7 separate regions of the Homo sapiens genome follow, and all the other regions are linked to region 5. The links are contacts of gene promoters, found by promoter capture Hi-C in blood cells and fetal thymus (Javierre and others, 2016). All regions are on one chromosome and are shown on one strand. The core of a region is centred on a gene start or on the middle of the fragment in contact, and the rest is flanking DNA. Distances in the headings are between cores, read along the strand shown. Region 1 has its middle 6.4 kb from the start of TOMM5. Region 2 overlaps IGFBPL1 (insulin like growth factor binding protein like 1). Region 3 overlaps TRMT10B (tRNA methyltransferase 10B). Region 4 overlaps LOC107987065 (a long non-coding RNA gene). Region 5 holds the start of SHB (SH2 domain containing adaptor protein B). Region 6 overlaps LOC107987065 (a long non-coding RNA gene). Region 7 overlaps LOC107987065 (a long non-coding RNA gene).

What was found. The method cuts DNA at HindIII sites, captures the fragments that hold promoters and counts their contacts. A CHiCAGO score of 5 or more calls a contact.
Region 1: a fragment that was not itself captured here is called in contact with the fragment with the promoter of SHB in region 5 in 1 of 17 cell types (erythroblasts); the score reaches 5.5 in erythroblasts.
Region 2: a fragment that was not itself captured here is called in contact with the fragment with the promoter of SHB in region 5 in 1 of 17 cell types (megakaryocytes); the score reaches 5.6 in megakaryocytes.
Region 3: a fragment that was not itself captured here is called in contact with the fragment with the promoter of SHB in region 5 in 1 of 17 cell types (neutrophils); the score reaches 5.4 in neutrophils.
Region 4: a fragment that was not itself captured here is called in contact with the fragment with the promoter of SHB in region 5 in 2 of 17 cell types (megakaryocytes and M1 macrophages); the score reaches 5.4 in megakaryocytes.
Region 6: a contact is called between a fragment that was not itself captured here and the fragment with the promoter of SHB in region 5, in 5 of 17 cell types (megakaryocytes, erythroblasts, fetal thymus and 2 more). The highest score is 8.3, in megakaryocytes.
Region 7: a fragment that was not itself captured here is called in contact with the fragment with the promoter of SHB in region 5 in 4 of 17 cell types (megakaryocytes, endothelial precursors, M1 macrophages and 1 more); the score reaches 6.5 in megakaryocytes.

Annotation. Positions count from the first base shown.
Region 1 is chr9:37,584,825-37,587,524 of GRCh38, forward strand. No RefSeq gene overlaps it. Among named protein-coding and RNA genes, the nearest start is that of TOMM5, 6.4 kb to the right of the region's middle. The HindIII fragment of the contact is 4,406 bases long and covers 1-2,700 here.
Region 2 is chr9:38,420,280-38,422,979 of GRCh38, forward strand. All of the region lies in intron 1 of IGFBPL1 (insulin like growth factor binding protein like 1), which reads right to left. Among named protein-coding and RNA genes, the nearest start is that of IGFBPL1, 2.8 kb to the right of the region's middle. The HindIII fragment of the contact is 3,072 bases long and covers 1-2,700 here.
Region 3 is chr9:37,774,557-37,777,299 of GRCh38, forward strand. It overlaps TRMT10B (tRNA methyltransferase 10B), which reads left to right. Exons shown (of 9, transcript NM_144964.4): 8 at 1,726-1,849. Among named protein-coding and RNA genes, the nearest start is that of EXOSC3, 9.1 kb to the right of the region's middle. The HindIII fragment of the contact is 5,813 bases long and covers 1-2,743 here.
Region 4 is chr9:38,330,228-38,332,927 of GRCh38, forward strand. All of the region lies in intron 1 of LOC107987065 (a long non-coding RNA gene), which reads left to right. Among named protein-coding and RNA genes, the nearest start is that of ALDH1B1, 61 kb to the right of the region's middle. The HindIII fragment of the contact is 4,837 bases long and covers 1-2,700 here.
Region 5 is chr9:38,067,939-38,070,638 of GRCh38, forward strand. It overlaps SHB (SH2 domain containing adaptor protein B), which reads right to left and starts at 1,289. Exons shown (of 6, transcript NM_003028.3): 1 at 1-1,289. The coding sequence starts at 707. RefSeq lists an enhancer at 1-529 and silencers at 420-469, 890-1,699. The HindIII fragment of the contact is 5,108 bases long and covers 1-2,700 here.
Region 6 is chr9:38,368,484-38,371,183 of GRCh38, forward strand. All of the region lies in intron 1 of LOC107987065 (a long non-coding RNA gene), which reads left to right. All of the region lies in intron 2 of LOC105376040 (a long non-coding RNA gene), which reads right to left. Among named protein-coding and RNA genes, the nearest start is that of ALDH1B1, 23 kb to the right of the region's middle. The HindIII fragment of the contact is 6,205 bases long and covers 1-2,700 here.
Region 7 is chr9:38,352,469-38,355,168 of GRCh38, forward strand. All of the region lies in intron 1 of LOC107987065 (a long non-coding RNA gene), which reads left to right. LOC105376040 (a long non-coding RNA gene) reads right to left here. Exons shown (of 4, transcript XR_929605.1): 4 at 2,425-2,464. Among named protein-coding and RNA genes, the nearest start is that of ALDH1B1, 39 kb to the right of the region's middle. The HindIII fragment of the contact is 911 bases long and covers 891-1,801 here.

The sequences.
Region 1 (2,700 bases), core at 48-2,547, 480 kb before region 5:
CTAAATGCCTTATACCAAAGACTAGCCATTAATAACATTTACCAAATGTCAAGCAATTGTGCCAGCTGCTCTACTTGCATTTTTTCACTTAATCCTTACGACACTTTGAAGTAGAGAGATGTTTCTATTATCCTAATTTTATAGTTAAAGAAAATGAGATTCGGAGCTCACTTGCTGAAAATCACCCATCTCGTAAGTATTGGAGCCAACATTCAAAATCAAGTCTGCCTGTCTTTAGAGCCAGTATTCATATGACCACAGTGCCATACACTACACCTTCTTAATTTAAGAAATAAATACAAAACCACAGAATTAAAATACATGCTTTCCAGGTTAAGATGGTAGATGAAGCACGTATACCTACCTCCACTCCCTCCCAAAAATCCCATTAAATGACGGTAAAGGTTTTTGTTTTAAGATATAAACCTAAAAGGATGGAAGAAAAGAGGAAACAGGAATAAAACGTTAGAAGCTGGAAAATAGGTAGATCAACAGTAAATAATGTAGTAGACTCTGAAAAACTGAATTCTGAGCCAGCGGTAGAAAAAGAAAAAAACCCACAAGAACCCCCAAACAACAACAAAAACTCACAACCTAATTTATATCATGGAATCCCTAAAAGGCTCAGAAACTAGTGGCTTCAGGTGCCTCTAGCAATAAGGGGTAGAAGGGTAGACATTAAAATAAGAATTGGTGCAAGGTTTAAGTAATCAGATGCTCTCTGCAACTCTATGCAGCAAAACAGCCTCCATTACACAGTACCCTCTCAAAATGATAGTTTTTTTTTTTAGGCCAGGTGCAGTGGCTCACACCTGTAATCTCAGCACTTTGGGAAGCTGAGATGGGCGGATCACCTGAGGCCAGCAGTTCGAGACCAGCCTGGCCAACATGATGAAACATCATCTCTACTAAAACTACAAAAATTAGACAGGCATGGTGGTGTGCGCCTGTAATCCCAGCTACTCAGGTGGCTAAGGCACAAGAACCGTTTGAGTCAGGGAGGCAGAGGTTGCAGCGAGCCAAGATCGTCCACTGCACTCCAGCCTGGAGCAAAACTCTGTCTCCAAAAAATAAAAAGTTTATTTTCTGAAAAGGGTAAAATAGAAGGTCTCTAGATTATGGGATGCCAGGCAGTTTGGGCAGAGGTACTATACTCAAAACAGAGACGCAGTGAGCAAATACATACTGGATATTGAAACACACACACACACACCTGTCTGTCCTGAGCCTCACCACAGCCCTATTCCTTTGAATCCCAGAACGTTGGCAGGGCCTCATTCAGCACTTGGGAGATTGGAAGAGTCTTTGTTCTCTGAGCAATGACCAGCTCAATGGGAAATAACTAAAGATACAGACGCAAAAAGTTTTCTCAACAAAAATGGCCCAATAGATGGCCCTTTGGCAAAGTTCAACATCAACAAGCTCCACTCCAGGCCTTTAATCCATGTTAGTTCCCAATTTTTAAGTGTGAGCAGACAACCAAGGAAAGCATCTAACATGAAACAAAAAAAGAGAAAAGCAATTACAGATAAAATAGAATATAAAGGAAAAAGAAAACATTAAAAGTACTATTGTTCTAAAAAGAGAGCAGAAGGAAAAAGAAGGGGAGGAAATCAATAAAAACCTATAAGCATTCATTGGTGGATGCTACAAATTAATACGACTGAACTCATGGAGACAGAGTAGAATGATGGTTACCAGAGGCTAGGAAAGGTTAGGGAAGGAATGCAGGGATGGCTAATGGGTACAAAAATATAGTTAGATGTAATGAATAAGTTCTAGTATTTGATAGCATAATGGGTGATTACAGTCAATAATAATTTACTGTACATCTAAAAATAACTAAAAGTATAACTGGAATGTTTGTAACATAAATAAATTATAAATGAGGTGACAGATAATCCCGTTATCCTGATGTGATTATTAGGTACTGTATGCCTGTATCAAAATATCTCATGCACCCCATAAATATATACACTTACATACCCATAAAAAATAATAAAATTATTTTAAAACCTACAAAATTTGAGAAATAAAGATACAAGTTTCAAGTTTAAATAGGTTCACCAAGTGCCCACCACAGTGTATTAAAATAAACACACACTAAATGATGTCATCATGGAATATAAGCATACTAGGAACAAAGATCCTTGTTTCTCAGGAAGAAATACTTAGTCCCACAAAAAAATCAGGAATCAGAATGATTTCAGATTTCTCAGCAGCAACACTGAAAGCTAGAGGCTTTGCTTTAAAATTCTGAAGGAAAATGATTGCTAATCTAGAACCCTATATTCATCAAACTATAGAATAAAGACATTTTTAAGGCCAGGCACAGTGGCTCATGCCTATAATCCCAGCACTTTGGGAGGCTGAGGTGGGCAGATTACCTGAGGTCAGGAGTTCGAGACCAGCCTGGCCAACATGGCAAAACCCTGTCTCTACTAAAAATACAAAAATTAGCCAGGCGTGGTGGCACGTGCCTGTAATCCCAGCTACTTGGGAGGCTAAGGCAGGAAAATCGCTTGAACTGGGAGGTGGAGGTTGCAGTGAGCCAAGATCATGCCACTGCACTCTAGCCTAGTTGACAGAGCAAGACTCCGTGTTAAAAAAAAAAAAAAAAAAAAAAAAAAAGACATTTTTAGACCAGCAAGGTCATTCACCTCCTATGCCACCTTTCTCAGGAGGACACTGCCAGAGAAA
Region 2 (2,700 bases), core at 172-2,671, 350 kb after region 5:
CACACCCACCAAAGGGCTCCCACCTCTGAGCCTCAGTTCATGCTGTGCCTCCCCCTTGCTAGCATTGGGATTCTCTCCCCATCCTTCAAGGCTTCTCTCAGGAGCTATAGCCCAGTGCTAAATAGAGGGACAAGTGACAAACCTTGGGAAAAACAGGAAGGTGGACCCAGATTGAGAAACCCCCAAGATTCAAGGCTGGCGGGTGCACAGCACCTTACTGATCAGGTTGCTAGCGGCTAGCTGTGCAGCGCCCATCTGAAAATAGCGAGGCAGGCCAGGCATGGTGGCGCACGCCTGTAATCCCAGCACTTTGGGAGGCCGAGGCGGGCAGATCATGAGGTAGGAGATCAAGACCATCCTGACTAACACAGTGAAACCCCGTCTCTACTAAAAGTACAAAAAACAAAATTAGCCAGGCGTGGTGGTGGGCGCCTGTAGTCCCAGCTACTCTGGAGGCTGAGGCAGGAGAATGGCGTGAACCCAGGAGGTGGAGCTTGCAGTGAGCCAAGATCACACCACTGCACTCCAGCCTGGGTGACAGAGTGAGACTCTGTCTCAAAACAAAACAAAACAAAACAGCCAGGCAAACCTACACTGGAGCCCTTTCACAGCTGGGACCAGCCAGGTGGCTCCAGGGAATTTCCTTCCATGTGCCTCAGCTTTCCCTTCTATCAAATGGGAAGGAGACCTCCCCAGGACACTTGTAAAAATCATGTAAAAAGATGGGTGCAGCCCAGGGATGGTATCTCATGTCTGTAATTTCAGCACTTTGGGAGGCTGAGGTGGGAGGAGTGCTTGAGGCCAGGAGTTCAAGAACAGCCTGGGAAACACAGTAAGATCCTGTCTCTACAAAAAATTCTAAAAATCAGCTGGGCATGATGGTATGTGCCTATAGTCCCAGCTACTTGGGAGGCTGAGGCAGGAGGATTCCTTGAGCCCAGGATCACAGTGGGCTGTGATCAAGCCATTGTATTCCACCTGGGAGATACAGTGAGACCCTGTCTCAAAAAAAAAAAAAAAAAAAAAGGATGCAAAAGCAATTTCCAACAGTAAGAATTATTCATATGTGAGTCTTCCATACATGTGTGCGGATCAAAGGATCACTCTCATTATGTGGCAGTTTGGGGCATTTCAGGGCATAGGAGGAAAGGGCAGAATTTAAGCCTGAAAACTGCTTCCCCAGGCTCCTCAGAGGCATGTATAAGGGCCCTTCACACACTGTGAACAACATAATAAATACTTCCCGAGGCCTCATTCCATGAAATCTAGGTGCTTGGGTACCCAAGGAGTCAGGAGGGGTGATTTTATCATGAATATTGAAGCAGAACAGCCCTGCTCTGACTCACAGTCTGTTTTCCTTCAACCGGGATCCCCAGAGGCATTGTTAAAAAACGCTCCCGCTGTGTCTTGTGAATAAAAGATGGCTTTAGGGCAGCACAGAATGAGCTGCTGCCTGGGCTAGGAAACATCCCCTGTCCAAACCTTCATGCTTTATCTGGACACAAGGGCAGAGGCCACACTAGCACTTCAGGACAGAGAGTGACAGGCAAACAGTGCCCGGTTCTGTGGTGGATGACACAAAGGCTGGTGCGGAAGAAGGGCTGAACCCCGGGGAGGCCTGACGCCTGTCAGTAATGAGATCATGAAAACCAGTTCTGAGTTGCTTCCATGTGGCCCCACGAATATCTTTATTCCCTGGGTCTGTGCCTGGGGTGGGCCTCAGATCCCATAGATCAGAGTGAAGGGGCTGTCACATTTACTTGTCATTTGGTAATTTTCAGTGAATTAGGGGTATGGAGTTTCCATCTGCCATCTGGCCTCACTCTGGTAACCATGGTAACCACCATCTGCCTGACTTAATACTATTAAGTCCTGTGCCAAAAGAGCACTGGACAGGGTGTTGGGACCAGGGAGCTGGTCATCCTTTACTGGTCACCCTGGACAAGGGCTCTGACCTTGCTGTGTCTCAGTCTCTTTCTCTGTATAACAGCAGATTTGGTCTGAATGTCTTTAAGGTGCCTTTCTCTTAGGAAGAGAATGCCACTCTGGGGAGAAATTATCTGAGATCATCAGCAGCATTTATAGTCTGAGGACCTGGTCAGCATTTCTTCTGTCTCCTGCATGTGGAGTTAAAAGTGTTACCTGTCTGGAGACAAAGAGAATTGCCTGTGAATTAACGGCTGAGGAAAGCAGTTATAAAAACGAGTGATAGGAACTAGCAAAAGGAAAGAGACAGGACTGTTTAAGTGCCACAGGGCGGAAACCAACTGTTCCGAGTGAAAGGGACCTCAACAATGACTCCACTGGGGCTGATATGGCCAGAGAGGGGAAGGGACCCGTCCAGGGCCACTCAGGGAGCCAGCGGCAGCACAGATGCACCCCCAGCCAGCTCTGTCCTCCATGGGGAGCTTCAGCTAGGAACAGCCAATGGTGACTTTCCTGTGCTCAACTGGCCACACACTGGTTTTACATTTCCCAGGACTGGAGGCTTCCTGCCCCATCTCCAACAACCCATTGCGTCTCCTGGACTTGGGTACATCTACCTGAACTACTTGAGAGGAAAGACTACTAGATACTTCTTAAGGCTTGGAAAGGTCTCACCCCACCCCAGGCTTCTTTCTTGAAGCTAAGTCATTACACTGACTTAGGCACTAAAGTCTGGACTTGGTCTCTGGGCTCAGGCCAGAATTATTTCCCAGA
Region 3 (2,743 bases), core at 11-2,510, 290 kb before region 5:
AGCTCTTCTAGGGCAACACCCAAATATCCTAATTTTGAATTCTGTACTTCAAAGTGATTATAAAGGAATAAGACTTTTTATAAAACAAACGTATCATATAGCTCATATATGCAAAGGAGTTTTATCCTTTCAAATAAGTCCCTGTATCGCTTAAAACATTTTTGGAAGTTCTATCTAAAATTTTGTTTCATGTGAGGCAGGTGTCAGCACCGAAAAGGTACTAGGTCCACTTCACACTATTCCACCTGGTTAGACCATACTCATGATGGCCAGTCAGTTATGGGACCGTAAACAAAATGATACTGGACTAGCTTAGAACAAGTTCAACTTGTCCTGAATGATGAAGGGACTTGAAATTCAAAGAAGAGTTGACAGAACTGAGGCTACAATCTGGAGACTAGAGGATTCCTAGGGGCATGATCACTGCCTTCAAGTTTCTGAATGGCCATCTTTTGGAAGGGCCATCTTACTTGCATGGTTTGGCCTTGGGGGAATAGACCTAGGATGAATGAGTGGAAGTCTCAAAGAAAACAGAATTTTGCTCAAGATCAAGAAGAATTTCCTATCAGCTGGTACTATCAAAACTGGAGTGGGTTGTCCCAGGATGCATGAACTCCCTGTCACAAGAGCTGTCCATTGAGTGGCCACATGGCCTCTTGGAGAAGTCATAGAGAACAGACAATGAATGGGTGGTTAGAGTGATACAGTTAACACTATTGAGACCCCTTCCAAGCCTTGGCATGTTAATTATCCCAGTAATCTGAACCTTTCTCTTTAATCCTGAAGTCTTAGGTAGAAAATCTTTCCTGTGCTTCTTACAAGGCAGCAAATGTAATCTGACTGAGTCATGACTCAGTCTGAGGGACTTCATGACTAAGGAACATCTTATAAAGGGACATCAGTTTCTGTACTCTGACACTAAATGGCCTCAAGTTGATGGACTTCTTGTGACTCCTTTTTGCAGTTTTCAGAGCCCGCCCTTTTATATTTTTGAGACAGGGTCTCCTCTGTCACCCAGGCTGGAGTGCAGTGGTGCAGTCACAGCTCATTGCAGCCTTGATATATGTCCCAGGCTCAAGTGATCATCCAACTTCAGCCTCCAGAGTAGCTGGGACTACAGGCACACACCAGCACACCCTGTTAATTTTTTTTTTGTTATTTGTAGAGACAGGATCTCCCTATGTTGCTCAGGCTGGTCTTGAACTCCTGGGCTCAAGCAGTCCTCTGGCCTTGGCCTCAAAGTGTTGTGTGAGGCACTTCACCTGGCCCCTTTCTTTTAATTGGGCTCTCTCTTCTCACACCCTAATGCCACTTGTTGCAGTGGTGCACCTGTCTTGAATCTTGTCTACCTTTTCCTCTAATTTGATGCTGCCTTTTGGCAATGAGCTGGAAGTTCCAGATATCCAGAATTGGGTCTTACTGAGTTAGGGCTCAGAATGTGCTCTGATTGATTAGACTGCTTGGGCCTTTTGATGCCTACTGTGGCTGCAGATGTGCCTCTTTTGCTTATTTCCCTCTTGGTTCTAAGTGGCAGTGAGTGGAGGACTGTGGATGAGTGACCCCCCAAAAAGTAAGATATTGTCACATAAGCTCTTGAGACAGTTAACTCATTATCTGCAGTTTCTTCCATTCCACAATAGGCTACTTATTTTTAATGCTGTATTACATTGAGAATATACTCATGTATAATTTTTATAAGAAAAATATTTAACTATATATTTACAGAAGGTGACATTTCAAAAGGCCCGGGAATACTCTGTCAAGACCGCACGCTTGCCAATCCAGGAATACATGGTCAGAAACCAGAATGGGAAAAACTATCATTCAGAGATACTGGCCATCAATCAAGGTACTTCTTACACGGCCCCCATCCAGGGTGTGTGAGTTCTGGTGCTGCTGCTTTGCACTGTGTTTAAGTGGCCTTTGAGTCAGTCTCCTCTGTGACTAATGTGTGTGGACTTTATTGCATGTACGTCATGACATATATTCTGGCCACTAAGAGGCATTCTGTTTTCTTCGTCACCAACTATGTTAAAGATAGTTGAAATTGTCCCCTTGGCCAGGTGCAGTGGCTCACACCTGTAATCCTGTAATCCACTTTCAGAGGCCGAGGTGGGTGGATCACCTGAGGTTAGGAGTTCGAAACCAGCCTGGCCAACATGGTGAAACCCCATCTCTACTAAAATACAAAAATCAGTCAGGCGTGGTGGTGCACGCCTGTAATACCAATTATTCCAGAGGCTGAGGCATGAGAACCACTTGAACCTGGGAAGTGGAGGTTGCAGTGAGCCGAGATCACACCACTGCACTCCAGCCTGGGTGACAGTGATACTCTGTCTCAAAAACAAAAAAAAAAGCTGGGCACGGTGGCTCACACCTGTAATCCCAGCACTTTGGGAGGCTGAGGTGGGCAGATCACCTGAGGTCGGGAGGTCGAGACCAGCCTGACCAACATGGAGAAACACCGTCTCTACTAAAAATACAAAAATTAGCAGGGCATAGTGGCAGGCGCCTGTAATCCCAGCTAATCTGGAGGCTGAGGCAAGAGAATTGCTTGAATCTGGGAGGTGCAGGTTGCGGTGAGCTGAGATCGTGCCATTGCACTCCAGCCTGAGCAACAAGAGTGCAACTCCGCCTCAAAAAAAAAAAAAAAAAAAAAAAAAAAAAAAAAAAAAATTGTCCCCTTCATCTAGAATGCCCAGCTTTTAACCTCTCACCACTGAATTCCTGTTTGATCTTCAGG
Region 4 (2,700 bases), core at 39-2,538, 260 kb after region 5:
GAGTCAAGCTGCAATAGCTGGGGCCGGGGACTGACCGCCTTGGTGAGCACCCCAAGGCGTGGAAGGGACTGCGTCCTCTGTTCTGGCTAGTGCCTAGCACTGGACACACATGCCCTTCCACTCCAGTCCTTTCTGTGTTCACCAGCACCAACAACCAGGGGTTGTAATCCAGGGTCAGGAGGGGTTTCAGCAGGTACCCAATTCCTGGTGACCTCCCTGCCCTCAGACACAAAGGCCTGGTGCCCACCCACCCAATGATACATTGTAATTGTCTCAGTGGTCTTGGGAAGAGGCTATTTGCACAAAGAATTTCCCTGCATTCCAAGAGTGATGAAGGTGACTCTGTGCCACTTCTCTTTTAAATTAGAGGAGAAAAAAGAAGTTTAATTTTGACAGTAATACCTGCTACACTAGATAAAAACCTCCCCTAGCTAAAGACTGGCATGTTTAGATTAAAAATGATCATTGACTACCAGGGAAAAGTAATGAAAAGAGACGCGCATCTAGACTGACTTTAGTGATTTTATTTTAATTTCAAGGATAAAGAAAAATGATTATAAATATCCAGATAAGGAAAAAAGAAAAGAAAAGGATTTCTATGAAGGGGTGAGTGGAGTTACGGGCATCAAAGTTTTCCCCCATGGCACTAAATGCTACAATGACACATCTGTGTCAGGAGTCTCCAACACAACCTCCAGGTTTGATGGCTTGCTAGGAGAACTCTCAGGGCCCAGCATGTAGTAGTACATCTATTACATAGCTGTGAGTACTACTGCTCACAGCATTACATAGCTGTGAGTACATTTATTACCGTGAAAAGATACAAATCAAAATCAACAAAAGGAAAAAAGGTGCATGGGGCGAAGTCAAGGGGAAACCAGACACAAGCTCCCAAGAGACCTCTCCCAGGGGAGTTGCACAGGGCACCCTTAATTCCAACAGCAAACGAATAATGGCAACATGCGTGAAATGCTGTCTACCAGGATGCTCACTAGAGATTCAGTGCCTGAAGTACTACTGGGGTCTGGTCGCTAAGGCACCCTCTGGCTGGCACACACGAAAATTTCAGAATCCCAGAAGAAAAACAGGTGTTCGGCATAAAGCATATTGTTTGTACAGCTTAAGCACAGTGAGCTGCTCCGATCCATTCGGAGAATGATGGAACCCTCCCGAAATCCAAGTTCCCAGACACCAGCCAAGGGCCAACCTTGACAGCAGGTTTTTCTGAGGATATAGCCTCAGGCCTGCTGTGTTAGCCCTTTCCAGCACAACAATGAAACAACATTTGCAGATTTTTAGTTTAAAAGAGTATGACCCAATAACCCTTTATAAAGTCAGCTGAATTATTTATTGTTCATAGGGGACAGCAATAGGGAGACATTCTCAGATATCCAGAGCCTCAGAAAGTGTAACTCTTCATAGCCTTGAAAAAAAAAAACAAATTACTGGAATATTCATTTTCCATTGTTGCTGTAACGAATCGCCACAAACTTAGTGGCTTAAAACAACACAGATGTATCACCTTCTAGTTCTATAGGTCAGAAGTCTGACATGGGTCTCTCACTAGGCTAAAGTCAAGGTGTCAGCAGGGCTGGTTACTTTCTGGAGGCTCGAGGGGAGAGTCTATTTCCTGGCCTTTACTAGCTTGTGAAGGCTGTCTGCTCCTTCACTCATGGCGCCTTCCTCCATCACCAACGGTGGCAATGGCAGGGCAAGTCCTTCTCATGCTGCCCCCTCTCTGACTTGCTTCTATAATTACGTCTCTTTCTGTGGTCACAGCCAGGAGCCTCTCTACTTTGATGTGATTTATGCAATTAGATTGAACCCACCTGGATAATCCAGGGTACTCTTACTATCTTAACATCCTTAACCTTAGTAACATCTGCAAAACCCCTTTTACCATGTAACATATTCTCAGGGTCCAAGGATTCAAATGTAGACATCTTTTGGGGGCTATCATTCTGTCTACTTCACTATATTAGTCTGTTCTCACACTGCTATAAAGAAATACCTGAGACTGGGTAATTTATAAAGAAAAGAGGTTTAATTGGCTCAGAGTTCTGCAGGCTGTACAGGAAGCATGGCTGGGGAGGCCTCAGGAAACTTACAATCATGGTGGAAAGCAAAGAGGAAGCAAGCATGTCTTACATGGCTGGGACAGAAGCAAGAGAGAGAAGGGTGGGGGAGCTACACGCTTTTAAACAACCAGATCTTGTGAGAACTAACTCACTATCAGGAGAACAATAAGGGGGGAAATCCACCCCCTTGATCCAATCGCCTCCCACCAGGCCCCTCCTCCAACATTGGAGATTACAATTCGACATGAGATTTGGGCAGGGACACAAATCCAAACCATATCACTCAGTAAGTATCCTAGATAATGAAGAAATGAGTCAAAATAAAGCTCACAGGAGTGGTGGGAGAGGATGGTACAGGCGTTCCCCAGATGGAAGAGGAGACAGAAGACTAGAACCAAATGTTCCAAGGAGTGTGTTTGAAGAATGTAAATCATTCCATGGTAGGAGAACAGGTGGTGGGGGCTGAGGTGCGGGAGGAGGGGAAAGCAGGTTTGCAGTCAGATAATGAAGGCCTTGAATACCAGGTACAGCATTTGTTCTGTGTGTGAAGGCCAGAGGCAGGATCAGATGTGCACAGTCCTGAAAAATAAGTATGTTGGCAGTGTGGACAAGCGAATGCGCA
Region 5 (2,700 bases), core at 39-2,538:
TTGCCGGCCCCGCTCTCCTCCGCGGCTGAGGCGGCGCACTTGTTGAGCAGTTTCTTGCCTCCGCAGGCCGTCGGGCTCCAGGTGCGGCCGCCCGCGCAGGCGCCCCCCAGGGGGTCCCCGGCCCCACCGCCCGCGGCGCTCTCCACTTTGATGAGGCGGTGCTTGGGGGAGATGTAGCGCACCTCGGCCGGCGTGGCGGGCCGCCGCTCGCTGCTGCTGCGGTAGAGATGCGGAGAGCCGGAGGACGAGGACGAGGACGCGGCGGCCCCCGCGCCCGAGGAGGCGCAGCAACAGCCCGCGGCGCCCGACGCGGACGAGGCCGAGAAGGCGCGCTGGACCCCGCCTGGCTCCCCGCTGCCGCCGCAGTAGTCCAGGCGGCACATGGCGCGCAGTTTGCGCAGCGACGAGCCAGGCCCGTTGTAGGGGTCCTCGAAGTCTCGCTCCTTCTGCGCGCGGTAGGCGCGGATGAGGTCGCTGGTGCTGCCGCTGTCGTCGGGCAGCGAGCCCGAAGAGGCTGAGAAGCAGGAGGCGGTGGCCGGACCGCAGGACGCCGAGGCGGCGGAGGAGGCCTGCGGCACGGCCTGGGGGGGCTGCGAAGGCCGCTCGCCTCGGCGCCGCTGCTCGCGGTAGTCTGGCCGCGGCGGCTGCGGGGGGCTCTTGGTCTTGCTGTTGCCCAAGCTGAAGTACTTGTTTAGCCACTTGGCCATGGCGAGAGGCCGCCTAGGGCCGCGGCGCGGGAGCCCGGTCCGCCGCCGCGGCCATTCGGGGGGCAGCGCTGCGGCGCAGGTCCCTCGGCGCCCCGGCCCCGGCGGGGGGCGTCCGGGGCGCCCGCTCCCGACGCCAAGTTCAAGTTCTTGCCGCCGCCGCCTCCTGCCGGCAGCTCTCTGGCTCCGGCGGCTGCAACACCTCCCTCCGCCTAGCGCCGCCCAAGCTAGGAATCTCGCGCCCCTCGTGGGCGCGTCTCATGGGGTCCCGGCCCACGCCCGGGGGAGAGCGGAAGGTCCGAGCGCTCCACGCCGCGGACCCTTTGGCCGTACGCCCCTCGCCGTGGATCGCGCTCCTGCCCCGTCGGAGCCGCAGCCTCCGCCTTGGCCGGGATCCGCGGCTGCCGCGGGAACTTCTCGGCGTCCTCGGCTCCCTTCTTCCTTCCTGCGAGCGCTGGGGAGAGCTCGGCCCCGCAGCGGAGGAGAATGCGGCCGGGAGAGACAGCGAGCGACGGAGGAAGGCAGCCGGCGCCCGCCGGAGCCCGCGCGCCCGTGCCCGTCCCGGCGGCGCCTGTCGCTGCCACTGCCGCCGCCTCCCGAGCCGCCGCGTGTGTGACACTCAGGCCGCCAGAGCCCGCCCCGCGCCGCCGCCCCGCCCCCCCGGAGCCCGCTCGCGCGCCCCGCCCCCCGCCCGCTCCCGCAGACCCAGCACCGCCCATCCCCGCGAGCCTGGCCCCGGGCCGCGGCCCAAGCCCCGCCCCCCTCGCGCCCGGGGCCGGGGTGGGCGCACCTCTCCGCTCCTGCACACGCCACCTCCCGCGGCTGCCCTGGCGCCAGCACCAGGGTCTTGCCCCAGGGCGCTGGGGTCCCGCCGCGCAGCCGGCTCCACCTAGCTTGCAGCTCGCCGCCGCCTCGGGCGAGAGGTTGCCTGGCGGAGCCTGCTACGCGCAGAGGCCAAACCTTTCCGCAGTCCCCCGGGACCCCGCGCGTTGTTCACTCCAGGGATCCCCCTGTCGGGGTTGAGGAGGGAGAGTGGATTAACACGGAACCTGTCTAGTTTACAGCGTGGCCCGTGTGGAGGAAATGCAGTGCCTAGTGCCCTTAGGGACAGAGTGGCTGTCCCTCTTCCTTAAAGGGACAGACTCCGGTTCAGCCCCGTGCGCCAGGTCTTCGGAGGAATCTTTATGCTAATGAGTGTATTAGCAGTCCAGATGACGGATGTGGTCGGGATAGGCGGTGGGAGCCGGGCCCAGCACCAATCCGAGAGCAAGGCTAGGGGAGGTCGGAATGTTTGCTTACCTTTTCACCTCTGAGGAAGTCGAGGCTTTAGCCCTGTTCGCTGCCAGCCGGCGGGGAGCAAGTTGTGGGAACATTTAATGCCTTATGTTGTAGGAGCTGGCAAGGATCCATTTAATACAGGACCTCGGCCGGGTGCGGTGTCTCACGCCTGTAATCCCAGCACTTTGGGAGGCCGAGGCGGGTGGATCACGAGGTCAGGAGTTTAATACCAGCCTGGCCAAGATGGTGAAACCCCGTCTCTACTAAAAATACAAAAATTAGCCGGGTGTGGTGGCGGGTACCTGTAATCCCAGCAGCTACTCGGAAGGCTGAGGCAGAGAATTGCTTGAACCTGGGAGGCAGAGGTTGCAGTGAGCCGAGATCACACCACTTCACTCCAGCCTGGGCGACAGAGGGAGATTCCGTCTCAAAAAATAAATACAGGACCTCATTTTACAGATGGAGAAACTGAGGCCCAGAGGAAAGTCACACAGGTGGACTTGGATGCCAGTTCCTAAGTCGGGTGGCACCATAATTATGTCTTTTCCAAGAGTCTCTTCTTTGCGATTTCAGATCATCCTTTGATTATTAACCAAAATTGAGGAAACAGTCCCAGGGAGTGGCCTGATTTGGTCAGTGTAACTTTTCCTGGGATCTGCACCCAGGGGAGGTGGCATGCTCCCTGTTGAGAGGGAAATGCTGCCTAAAGATGAAGTAG
Region 6 (2,700 bases), core at 172-2,671, 300 kb after region 5:
ATTTCAGATTTACAAGAAATTTACATATATAGTACCGAGAATTTCCATGTACCCCTTATCCAGTTTCCTCCATTGTTAACATTGTACATTATCATGCTATACACATCAAAACAAAGACATTTGATATTGGTACATTACTAATAAGTAAAGTCTAGACTTTACTTAGATTTCACCAGTCTTCCCATTAATGTCCTCTTTTTGCACTGGTATCCCATCCAGCATATATTGTATTTAGTTGTCATGAGTCTCCATGGTCCCCTCTGGTCTGGGATAGTTTCTCAGTCTTTCCTTGTTTTCCATGACTTTGACAGTTCTAAGGAGGACTGACTGGGGATCTTGTAGAATGTCCCCAATCTGGGTTTGTTTAACGTTCTTCTCATGCTTAGACAGGTTAAGGTTTATGGAAAACACTCAACAGAGATGAAGTGCCCTCTGGCTACATCATACCAATGGATACATGATAGCCACATGACATCACTGGGGAGGCTCACCTGGATCACTTGGGTAAAGTGGAGTCTGCCAGGTTTCTCCATGGTGAAGCTGCTATTTCCTTTTCTACATTCTATTCTTTGGAAGCAAATCTCTGCTTCCTTTTTGATCTAGAATCCTATCTCATGTGTCCCAGAACCTATCGCCATATTATCATTGTTCTTTTTAAAAAAATCAATAAATTATGATCACTTTAAAATATATTTAACATCAAACTTTAAAAAGAAATTTGCCTGTCAGACCCAATGATCTGATAATTACTATAAACACACTATTTACTATAAAATTACATGCTAATTACTATAAACATGTAATCATCAGATTACAAAATAATCCCAATTTAGGAACAGGTAGGATGAAAGTGTTAATGACACCAATTAGTGCTGCTTGTCCCATCCCCAAACCTGGCTGCATCTGGCCCCTTGTGACAAATGACATAGGCATTCCCAGGCCCCTGTTCTGTACTAGACCTTGTCCTGAGCTCTGTGACCTGGACTCTGGAGTTGACCTGCTTCAACCCCTTTCTTGTATAAGAGGGGAAATTAAAGACAAGAGAGGGAAAGGGCTTGCCTGAGGTCACACAGCCTGTGAGTAGCAGAATCAGGACTCAATCCTGAGTCTCTCATTTCCCCAGCATTCCAAGTAATGCCGGTGATAACCTGGGATCCTCCATGAAATCCCTATTCAGCCAAGAAGGATTCTCTGCTTTTCTGCATGGCTTTTAATTCCAGTTCCAGTATCTGAGTCCCTTCTGCACAATCAAGCTGGGGTCTTGCAGGGAAGGTCCAGGGGAGAATAACTACTCCTCAGCACAGCCCTCAAGGAGCTTCTGGTGAGTAGAGTGACAATTCGATCAAGGGCTTAGTACAGGGTCCAGCACGGAATAGATATAAGTCATTGTTGGATGACTGGATTGGCCGGAACAAAGTCACTCTCCCTTCCACCTGGTTAATGCCCATTACACACCTTAATGATAGTATATGCCCACCCCTGAGAGCACTGACCACTTTACACCAGCTTGTGCTTCCTTTGAGTAATGGCCCTTTCCCAGCCAACACACCCAGATCCTGGAGAGCAGGGGCCATGTCAGTCTTGCCCAGCAGCTGGATCCCAGCATTTATCACAGAGCCTGGGAGATGGCAGGCACCTAGTAGATATTTGATGGCTGAATGAGTGAATGAATGAATGCCATTCCAGGCAGAGAGAGGGCCAGGCTGTCACATACATGCAGTCAGGCCTCCCACTGCCCAGATGCAGCTCCCCACATTTCTCACCAGCTGCCAGGCCATCCCATCAGACTCAGGTTTTCAAATAGAAGCGAGGAGTTGAGTGTATGAAGCTAAACAAAGCAGTGGGCTGAGCCAAACTTGCCTCGAGGCAAGCTGCTTCCTGCTGCCACCCCGGCTGGCACCCCATAGTCTGGAGCCAGGCCTGTCCCACAGCCAACCCTCAGCTTCCAAAATCTGCACCCAGCCAGAGAATGTAGGGTGAGGGGCTTCTGGGAGGGAGGTCACCTGCCACACTCCCATCCTGGATGGCAGGGTCAGACCACCCTACTCATGGCCCATACACCCAGATCCGGAGGTAGAGGTGGGAGGAAGCCTACATCCTGTGGTGGGATACAAGGAAAGAAGGAAGGAGACTCCACACCTCCTTGCACCCATCAGGAGCACAGCTCGGTGCTGGGCACTGCATGTGTGTTATCTTGTTCAAAAGTCATTACAAGTCACAGAGGCAGGGGTTGTTATTCTCTTTTACAGATGTGGAAACTGAGACTCAGAGAGGGCAAGAACTTGCCAAGGCCACAATTCTGGTCAGTGACAGAACTGATTTGAGCTCAGCTCTGTCTGATTCCAGAGCCTGAGGTTTGGTCTCAAGCTGTGGAGGTTTCTGTTCCCACACTCACCTGTCTTCCTCATTAGTTCCCATCTCTTCTTCAGTCCACATAAGATGCCACCAGGATACTGCCCTGGTGTTTTTGTTTGTGTGTGTTTGTTTTTTATTTTAAGGCTAAGATAAGGAAGGAGGGGAGTGGTAGGGAGGTCAGCCATTCACTCCCTGGTGTGAATCATTCTAATCCATTGCTTTCCTTCTGGCCTCCAGCTGAGTCTCACCTGCCTGGAGCAGGTAGAAATGTTGGGGAAAGTGTGGCTGCCTGGGAGTCAAGGTCGCTTTGAAGGATCCACTGAGTCAGTGTACAGATGAGGAAAC
Region 7 (2,700 bases), core at 96-2,595, 280 kb after region 5:
TGTGTGCTACCCTTCCAGGGTTCAGCACAGGGAGGGTATGCAAAGGGTCCTTTTTAATCTTGGACTTTGACCCCACTCCTGTCCTGTATCCTGTCAGTCTGTAAAATGCAGGAGTGGGCCTGTCAGCTGCCCTGAGAGCCCTCTCAGCTCTGCGGCTCTCTGCAATCAGTCCCACGCATGGTGCACACAGTGGGAACTTGCTGACTGCTCATAGCATGGGGTGGAGGCTGTCCTGAGAATTGTGCCAGAGGATGGTCTGAGGACAGTGGGCAAACCCCAAACACTGTCATGTCTAGAGGAAAGGAGACTGAGAAGAGCCCAAGTCAGCTCCCCTAGGCAACCAGGAAACAATTTGCAAGATGGAATTCAACAAGCAATGCCAACAAGATCATAATGACCATATTTATGGGAGAACGTGGAGGCCCGCGTGCGGGTTTTCATTATCATGTGTATAAATGTGATGGCTCTGTGCAGCCAGCCTCCCGCTCCAGGCGGCAGCTGTTGGCTGGTGCATGGTAATTTGATGTAAATTGTCCCCAAATATGGTAGTTCCCTCCTCTGCCAGGGGAGTTTGAAGTCACAAACCTGGAGATGTTGGCAGCAGATGTTTTCTTACTCCTCCGCAGGCTGCTGGTATTGTGGAAAAGGATAACAAACCCAGAGACAATGCTTACCTGCACCACCTCTGGTGTGCCTGCTGTGAGACCTGCAGCACACGCGCCACCCCTCTGAGCCTGTTTCCACATCTGTAACATAGGCACAATGTCCTGTCAGGGTTACTTTGAGGAGTAGAAGAGATATACCCAGAGCATCCAGTACAGTGCTTTTATTAATATTCTTCTTTGGGACCTCGGTGGTGCCAGTTGTAGGAGCTGGGCAGTCAGTGCCCAAGCTTGTCTTCTAGTCCTAAATGGTGGGCTCCCCCAGGCAGAAAACAGGAAGAGCAACATGATTAAAATAAAAGTGAAAGTTCTAGGGAGAAACCTTAGTCTAAGGACAGACTAAGGTTTAATTCAAGAGCTCACTGGAATTTGTAAGCAAAACATCAATACCCCAATATGTAAATGAGCAAAGGGTTCAAACAGACAATTCACACCGGAGAAAGACAAATAACAATCCAACACAAAGAAAAATGTCTTTCCCCCCTCTTTTGCTTTACTTTTCTTTAATCCTCGGTGCAAGATATCAAATTAAAACAACCTCGAGATGGCTTTATTCCCACAAAATAAAAAAATATGTATATTAAAATGAGTTTCTAGCTGAAGTGATACACTCCGCTGGGGAGGTAAAACTTATCCTGTAGCAGACATTTTGCAAGGCGATCTAATAATATGTACCAAAAGTCAAATCAAGATAAATGATCCAGGCATCTCACTAATGTGAATTTCTCCTGAGGAGATTATTCAACAGGAGGAAAACGCCAAATCAACAAAGATGCCGTGAAAACATTTGAAAAGCGAGGTATGCATGCGTCAGTGGAAGATGGGGAAGCCATCCATGAGGTTCCACACAGAATACCCTGAAGTGCTTAAAAGGGTAGTTGTGTTTTGAGGATTAGGCATAGCATGTGGAACAATGTTTACAATGTATTTTTAATTTAAAAAAGGAGCACAAAAGGCTATTTATAGCATGATGGAAACTATACACATGTGACTGTATGACGCAAATGGTGCCTCCTTGCAAAGGATGAGACATTGAGAGGGGTGCGCTGTCCAGCACAGAGGGAGACCCCCGGGAGGCATGAGATCTCTGTCTCTCAGTCCCAAAGGTCATCTCAGAGCAGCAGCAGCAGCAGCAGACAAGCTTTGAGAGGTCCCAGAAAGCAGGCCTAGCACATGAGATGGAACTCTTTTGGGGGGCAGGTGGCAGCTCAGCTCAGGGAAGAGCCTTCTTGTGGTCAGTGACATGGGCTGGCCCCTGAGGTAGTGAGCTTTCAGGGGCTGGAGGTGTGCAAGCAAAGGCTGGAGTAGAGCTGGGCAGCTGGAATGATGTCACCTAGGATGGTTAAATGATATTAATCACATGTCTACTCATACCAGCCCATCTAGCCAAATATCCCTGTATTAGGCCATTCTTGCATTGCTATAAAGAAATACATGAGACAGGGTATTTTATAAAGAAAAGAGGTTTCATTGGCTCACAGTTCTTCAGGCTTTACAGGATGCAGGATGCTGGCATCTGCTCAGCTTCAGGGAAGGCCTCAGGAAACTTACAATCATGGCAGAAGGCACAGGGGGAGCAGGCACGTCACACAGTGGGAGGAGAAGCCAGCAAGAGACAGGGTAGAGGTGCCACACGCTTTTAAATGAACAGATATCTCAGGAGAACTCACTCACTATCGCGAGAACAGCACCAAGGGGACGGTGCTAGGCCTGCTTTTTGGGCCCCTCAAAGCTTGTCTGCTGCTGCTGCTGCTGCTGCTGCTGCTGCTGCTGCTGCTGCTGCTCTGAGATGACCTTTGGGACTGAAGGACAGAAAAGCCATCACAAAAAATCCAACTTAATGACCCAATCACCTCCCACCAGGCTCACCTCCAACATTAGGTATGAAAATTCAACATGAGATTTGGTGGGGACACAGATCCAAACCATAGCAATCCCTAAAAGGGAAACAGAGTAAGCCCATTCATTCATGGAACACAGGGAAGAAAGAGGGAGAGGAAGAAGGAAGGGGAGGGAGGGAGGGAATGAGGGAGAGAGC